2 separate regions of the Homo sapiens genome follow, and region 2 is linked to region 1. The links are contacts of gene promoters, found by promoter capture Hi-C in human tissues and cell types (Jung and others, 2019). All regions are on one chromosome and are shown on one strand. The core of a region is centred on a gene start or on the middle of the fragment in contact, and the rest is flanking DNA. Distances in the headings are between cores, read along the strand shown.

Region 1 (4,242 bases), core at 1,270-3,769:
ATTTTCTGGCATAAAATCATGTTTTTCTTTATTGTTTTTGTATGTCTCAGAACTTCAGAAAAAGGAAAAGCATGCATCCAAAATAAAGAAAAAGTAATTATAAATTTACAACATCACAAGTGAACACAACCTACTTCTCGTAGTATTTTTGGTTTGGATATATTGCTAAATAGCATCATCATTCTCTTAGACATGAGGTTGAAAATTTCTGGGTTACTGTTGACTTCTTTCTTATTCTTACTTTTTTAAGTCCTTTTGTTTATTTTTATTCTTTCTGTTATCACAGATCCTACTCATTTTTGTCCCTCTGTAACTATTATCTAAATACATTTAAGAGATTCTTAATTGTCTTTTATAATTTACCTTCTTTCCTCTCCAAGCTATTATTAATTTTGAAGCCAAAACAATCTCAATCAAAATATTTACTTCATTTTAATGATTTCTCATTGTCTAGTGTGTTGAGTTTCAGGAAGAATGCCGGTGTCCTCTCTATTCTGGCTATACCTTAAAATTACTTCAGTGATTTTTAAATACACCAGTCTCTGGACCATAACCTCGAGACTCTGATTCATTATGCAAGAGTGGACATGGGTCTTTGAATTTCTAACAAATGTTATTGTGTTTTAATTGTGCTAAGAAAACCCTGCTCTGGCAACCTAATAAAGTAGCCTGCTAATAACAGGTACTCAATAAATATTTGTGGAACAAATGAATTATTGATTCTTTGTATGAACAGTTCATTCTCAAGCAAACACCTGAACATCAACCTCTCCCACCCCACACCCCTTTTGAAATATTCTTCATAAAACTTCCTACTGTATGAAAGTATCTTCTGTGTGTGAATTTTTACAGTCTGCATCACCACATGGAATGTGAGATCCCTGAGAAAGGAGACTTTGTTTGTTTTGTTCCCCACAGTGCCTCAGTGTCTGAAATAGCACCTGGTAAATCATAGGGACTTCTGAAATACTTTCTGAATGGATAAATGAGTGGTAGGAAAAGTGTGAACATGGTAGATAAAAGAGAAGTCACCACTAGAACACCAAGTTCCTGACATACAGTTTCAAGGTCCAGCAACATAGTTGCTACGAACTAGCTGCCTTTAAAGTTCTCTAGATCAACTATATAGATTAGCAAGTCTTTTAACTAAGCATTAAGCAGAGTACTGCTCTGAGATTTAGCACCTCAGTCTTTTAGGTCCCTAAAGACTCCGGATTGGTTCCAGAGGTGGACTGTCAAATAGGAGGACTTTCTGCAGTAATGGAAATGGTCTATGTCAGTGCTGTCCAACATGGTAGCCAAGTGTGTGTGGTTATTGAGTACTTGAAATATGGCTAGTGGCACTGAGGAACTAAAGTTTTAATTTTAATTAGTTTAAGTAGCCTTAGGTTGCTAGGGGTTACCATATTGGATATTGCAGTTCTAGAGTTATTCTTCTCTCCTCATATTCAAAATTATCTTATGATGCTATCATAATTGAAAGATTAGCCAGGGACCCTATCATGGCTATGGCAGTCATGTCCTGTGAAAAATTCCATTAATGACCTCCACGTTTTATGATGTGTAGAGCAAAATCTCAGTCTCCCTGAGTAAGGCCTGCTCCATGTGGACACCTGGCTTTCTCCCTTGTCTACCTCCCTCAGTGGAGAGTCCACCTGCTGGTAGTGCACTCCTTAGGTGCCTGTCTCTGGCTGTCCTGTGCCACCTGCACAGAGTCATGCATGAGCTCCACTGTGGGAAGTCTCTAGAGATGAGCTGAGCTTACCCTACACCAACTGAAAGAGTCTATCTAAGTCCTGAAGATCACAAGTCATCCTCATATTCCCATGAATGTGAATGGAAGTTGGGCCTGCTCAGAGAATCATCAGGGCTCTTTATTGTGGCCTGGAGCCAACTGCCAAGGAGTGCCTAGGAACACACTCAGTAAGAGTGTTGCCCTCAGGCCAGATCAGACTTGAACCTGCAGAGAAATCCCCTAGGTATGTCAGCAATTGCTCATTTGGATGCTATAAACTTGAAGTTGTGAAAAATATAAAGACTTACATTATCCAGTCTCTCCTGGCAAAATATGTAGGTTTAATCATTCCTGAATTTTCCTTAGTTCACACAGATATACAAATATATATCCTAAAAATTGGCATTGGTAGGCGTGTCAAGTTATCATTTTAAAAACATAGAAACCTGAACAAGATGTATCACTCCAGTCTAGAATGTCTATATGCAGAGTATCCACAAAAAACCAAACTTCAACAGTCTTTCATGTCTATATTTCTTCAACATTCTTTGTCTTCAACATTCTTTCATGTCTAGAATGTCTATATGCAGAGTATCCACAAAAGACCCAAACTTCTTTCATTTAAAGAACCAAACTTCTTTAAATAAAAATGACTCACAATAATTTAATATTTTACCATTTACAAAGAGATTAACTACAACAATATTGATCTTGAGTTAATTTCCCACGAATAACATTTTCATTTCTTAAAATTTGCTGAATGGAAAGCCAGAAAGTAGAGTGAAGCAAGTAATGTGTGTGTGAGTAGTCATTGGATACATACATAACAGTGAGCAAGTTTATCAGCTCCTGCATGGCAGTGTTCTGATGATCTTTTGCTGCAAAAGAGCTACACCCCAAATTAGTGGCTTAAAGTAAAAGCTTACTAGTGTATATGATGATTCTGTTGGTCCAGGATTTGGAAAGGGCATGGCAGGAGGTCTCATCTCTGCTTCACAATGCCGATGATTTAGCTGGGAGGACCCAAAATGCTGGAAAAGCTGATGGGTGCTGATTCTCTCCAGCTTTTCAGGTAGGTAGCTTGGGGTTTTTTACAGCATGGCGGCCTCAGTGCAATGTGACATTTGCATGGCAGCACAGAGCTCCCAGGGTGAATGTTCCTGGAGACAGGAAGTGGAACATGTCAGGGTTGGAAGCCTGAGCCCAGTATATGGTTCAGCCTTACTTTCTCCCATATTCTGTCAGTCAAAGGAGAACCTAGCCAAGGATCACTCATGTTAATGAGGAGGAGACATAGGCCCTCACCTATCCCTGGGAGGAGGATCAAAGAGTTTGAATCTTTAATCCACAGCAGGCAGACAGCTTTCCATTGTTATAAACCACCTCCCCCTCACTCCATCTGCCTGTGCTAATTGTTTGCTCACAGGAATTTGTTTAGCACTGTGTAGAACTGGGATAACTTTGTGCTTATTTTGCAGTTAAAAGGGAGAGGCGCTAGTTTGGAGATTTTTAAAAAGCAAAGGTTTGAGAGCCAGTAAGACCTGGAGTGAACTCTCCTGTCAGCTATTTACCAACTGTATGACTGAGCAATTTATAAAAAAAAAATGCAAACCTCAATATCTTCATCTATAAAAATAAAAAAATAAGACGTATTTGGCTGAATAGTTAAGATTAAAAATATGAAAGTGCTAAACCATACATGTTATATGCTCCATTGATGTTGCTTATTCTTTCTCTCTTCTGCAGGGTATAAAGGAATCTGAACACGACTGATATTTTCTTTAATTTTTAGATCCAGATATACATTGGGTAAAATCTACTTCATAGGTTTTCAAAGGAGCATTCTTCTGAGCAAATCTGAAAACTCTCTAAACTCTATTGGTATGTTACTCTTTATCTTTATATGAATTTAAATTCTTCTAGAAGTTAGATAAAACTGTGGTAAAGCTACATAATACTTTTGACATATTTTCAAGCGTAGACAAACTTCAATTAATTTGTAAGATACAGGAAGAAAATTTTTCCAGTTAAAATGTACCTCTTGGTTTCTGGAGTGTTAGCAACCATTCACACTTACAGTTCAAACAGTGCAACCTTGTAAAACATATATAACTTATGAAGAGATCGATATCTCTTTTTATAAAGCAAACAAGTAAATTTTTCCCTCAATCCATGATTTATTTTTGTGAAGTGGGAATTTAAGGCAGTAGTTCTGCTTTCAAGTGAAAACCTGGATCAACTTTTAAATATCTATAGGCGCAAACCCAAGCTAGGTCTCACACAGTGCCTCACTTAATAATCTGTCAACGTTTAATTCTTTTTCTTTTTTTTTTTTTTTTCTGGAGACAGGGTCTCACTATGTTGCCCAGGCTGGAGTGCAGCAGCGCCTCGGCCTCCCCAAGTGCTAGGATTACAGGTGTCAGCCACAACACCCAGCCCATTAATGTTTAATCCCCTAGAAGGTGATCCTTTTTTTTTTTTTTTTTTCAAAGAGACAAATTGCAGCT
Region 2 (3,778 bases), core at 1,222-3,721, 110 kb after region 1:
AATAAACAAGAATTAATACCAAACAGATAGAGTTGATATTAGTTAGGATTAAGGGGTCTCCATACTGATGTTCTTACTACCCAAAATAGTTGTGGTAGACATGAGAAGAATTATAAATAGTGCACCAAAGACAGGACAAAAAAGGGGGTGGATGTGGTGAGAAAGAGGACAATGGGTGTCTGGGAGAGGGATGGAGGAGGGGCTAAAATTGAAGACAAGATGCTTGCCATAACTCCATGGCTAAATTGTGAACTACATTTTCAAGGTAAGGATTTTATATCTTTTTTGCATTAGCATCTCCAGAACTCATCAGAGTACTTGACAGATTACATGCAGTCAGAGTGTGAGGCAAAAATGGGCAGCCTGTTGACTTTAAAAATAGCATTACTAAATCTGTTGGAATATCGACCAAACATCGAATTCATTCTTGGGGCATTTATAAGAATTCTTCCTTATTTTTGGCTTGAATTTCCTTATATCCCTGCTTTGAATCTTTAATATAAGCTGGCTTCTTCATGCTCCCTCCTTATTTTACTTTCCCTTTACACTTTTTGTGACAAGATCTTTGATATATTTAACTGCATAAGCTTGCTTGTTCAATCAAATGGGTTTTTGCTTGTAGAGATTTTCTATGTCCAAGGAAATTCTAACTGATTCAAGATTGGCTTCTTCTCTTCCTTAACTTCTATTTCTTGCCTCTGCAAAACTATGAGGTAGTTACAACATAACTTTACATTGGCCTTAAAGTGATATACTCAGGCTAATCTAGTTAGATTACTCGGCCAGGTAGCTCATGCATTTGGGACTCAACATTCAGGCTACAGATTGATTGTGCAACAGAAAAATCGAGAGTGGGTTAATAGAAAGGGTTCAACAACACACTAGCAGAAGGAATGAGGGGTAGAGTCTAGACATATAAGCAGAAAGTCAAATTAGGCAGATCACCCCAATATGGAAAGAGAAAGGTGCCATGGAAATTTTTGGTTCTGCCACAGACCAGCTTTGAGCATTTGTTCAGTCATTATTGTGAACTTCAATTTCTTCAATGACACACAAGGCAATGGATTAGGAGTATATAAAGTATAATTGTTTCCAAATATAAGCTATTATAAATATTGACATCTTGCAGTATACCCAGTATTTTAATTATGAAAGTTAAAATTATATAAACAACATATATGTGGTAGTATTTTCTCTTACCTTTATTATAAATTGATCAATATAAAAATAATGGCTAAATAGATTATAGCCTCAAAGACAGTAAATGATAATTTCCTTTCCCTAGAAATTGAAATAGTCCAGTATAAAATTTGCTTTTGTTAAAAGCTTAAAATTTAGGAATATAAAATATATTTACTGTCATGTGGAGGATGTAATAGCATCCTGATTCATTACTTGAGCTTTGTCCAAAGACTTTTATGTCTTCAAATATACTCTGTGATATTTTACTTTCTCTGGTTATGTATAAAGCTAATCAAGAAGCGAATATAATAGCTGCTACTTTAGGATAAACTAAAGATAGGAAAATAATTATATTTTATATAGAATGTATCAGCTATCCTTTAAATGCCTATAGTGGTATCAAAACTAACACATGCTAATTTAGCTAGGTATCAGCAATAGGCTGGCAATTAGTAAGGGTGCTTTGAAGCAATCACTGAAGCTACAACATAAATCTGTGGCAGACAGCACAAACTACATTCTTATGTTGTTAATCACTCTTCTTAATTTTCAGTGCCAGAAAGAATGGTCCTTTTCAGGCTATCTATTGCTGCATAACTAATCACCCTGAGAACTCGGTGGTTTAAAAATTACAATAATTGCATTAACTTTCAGGGTTTATAGGGGACCAGAACTAGGAAAGAGCTTGGCTTGGTGTTTCCAGTTCAGAGTCTTTCCTTGTGATTGCATTTAAACTACAATAAATTTAATTAAAGTTTAATTCTTAAAAATTAAAGTTTAAAATGTCCCCTGAACCACAAAATAATTTTGGCATAATGATGGCCAATTGACTCTTTCACATATGAATTCTATCATTGCCCCTCTATTTTCACCACATTTTACCTAAGAGATACCTGTCTAAAATAACTGGTGGTACCTAATTGATGTTTTCCTAATATATATTATAAGTGCTCTAATATATAAAGTTGCATTGTGTTCTGAATATGTTAGCAAACAACATTAAGTATCAAAATAAAATGTAGGGAATTGCTTTCCTTTTTTTTTCAGAATGTGCAGGCAAGCAAGAAAGACACAGAATAACATTGAGAGAAATAGAGATCATTGTGCAAGGAGAAGCCTATGAATAAAAATTAGCTGGAAAGTCAGTCATTATGTCAGAACAAACATCTTCTAAGAAGAAAATTCTGATTGATTTCCACATAATCACTCTGATTGTGGAGTCAGCCTGAGCCACACATGAGCCAGCTCTTCCACTGCTGTTGACTGCGCCTGCAAACAACCAAGAAAACATAAATCAGGGAGAGGAAATGACTAAAGTATGGATTTAAATGTTCCTATTTTTACAAGGCTGTAGGCTCCACATTTTTGTTGACTATTTTAATGATACCAGCAACAATTTGGGGCAGCCATCCTGGTAATGTCTCTTAACCTTTTCTGTCATTTATGGGAAGCAGTTTGCAGGTACTTCATGATCAGAGAAAGAACTTGACCAATTTATTCTTTAGTATTTAGTTCAAAAGAGAGCTATAAAAACTGTTTTTTTTTCTAGTTTAAAGGGATGCTATTTTGAGAAAAAAATATTCTCAATAAAATTTGCTACTAAGGTAGACAAAATATATACAAAATTTAAACACATATAATAACATATACAAAAGTTACACAGCTCAATTAAACAATCTCAATATGGAGAAAGGCAAAAGATGCTTCTCAAAGATAAGTAACCATAAACTCACTGACCAGCTAAGTTGGTCCATATTTTATCCGCTCATTTATTCACCTAACATTGACATTTACTGAGCACCTCTATGTGCTCAATACAGTAGTACATGGAACACTTAACATAACTTTAAAGACATATATGTATATATATATACACACACACACACACACACACACATATATACTTTAATAATAATTTTAAAATGTAACTCAACCTTGTTATTAAAGTGAGGCAACTTAATTTTATATCTTGGTGATATGGTTTGGCCATGTCCCCACCCAAATCTCATCTTGAATTGTAGTTCCAATAATCCCCACGTGTCAAGGGAGAAACCCGGTAGCAGGTAATTAAATCATGGGGGTGGTTCCTCAGGCTGTTCTTATGATAGTGAGTGAGTCCTCGCGAGATCTGATGGTTTTGTAAGGGGCTTTTCTCTCTTTATTCAGTATTTCTCCTTCTTGCTGCCATGTGAACAAGGACGTGTTTGCTTCCCCATCTGCCATGAATGTAAGCTTCCTGAGACATTCCCAGCCTCAGGACTGTGATTCAATTAAACCTCTTTCCTTTATAAATTACCCAGTTTGGGGTGCGTCTTTATTAGCAGTGTGAGAACAAACTGATGCAGTAAATTAGTACCAAGGGAGTGGGGCTATAAGGATACCCAAAAATATGGAAACCACTTTGGAACTGGGTAACAAGAACAGGTTGGAACAATTCGGAGGGCTCAGAAGAAGACAAGAAAACTTGGAAAAGTTTGGAACTTTCTAGAGACTTGGAGGGCTCAGAAGATAGGAAGATGTGGGAAAATTTGGAACTTCCTAGAAACTTGTTGAATGGCTTTGACCAAAATGCTGATAGTGATATGGACAGTGAAGT

Evidence for each region. The method cuts DNA at HindIII sites, captures the fragments that hold promoters and counts their contacts. A contact is called where the count stands out against the background at its distance.
Region 2: a fragment that was not itself captured here is called in contact with the fragment with the promoter of DAOA in region 1 in 2 of the 25 tissues and cell types used here (dorsolateral prefrontal cortex and spleen).

Annotation. Positions count from the first base shown.
Region 1 is chr13:105,463,526-105,467,767 of GRCh38, forward strand. It overlaps DAOA (D-amino acid oxidase activator), which reads left to right and starts at 2,520. Exons shown (of 6, transcript NM_172370.5): 1 at 2,520-2,535; 2 at 2,691-2,807; 3 at 3,528-3,616. The coding sequence starts at 2,764. DAOA-AS1 (DAOA antisense RNA 1) reads right to left here. Exons shown (of 7, transcript NR_040247.1): 5 at 2,662-2,895. The HindIII fragment of the contact is 13,308 bases long and covers 1-3,941 here.
Region 2 is chr13:105,570,897-105,574,674 of GRCh38, forward strand. LOC105370345 (a long non-coding RNA gene) reads right to left here. Exons shown (of 7, transcript XR_931698.2): 7 at 1,180-2,451. Among named protein-coding and RNA genes, the nearest start is that of DAOA-AS1, 67 kb to the left of the region's middle. The HindIII fragment of the contact is 3,031 bases long and covers 957-3,778 here.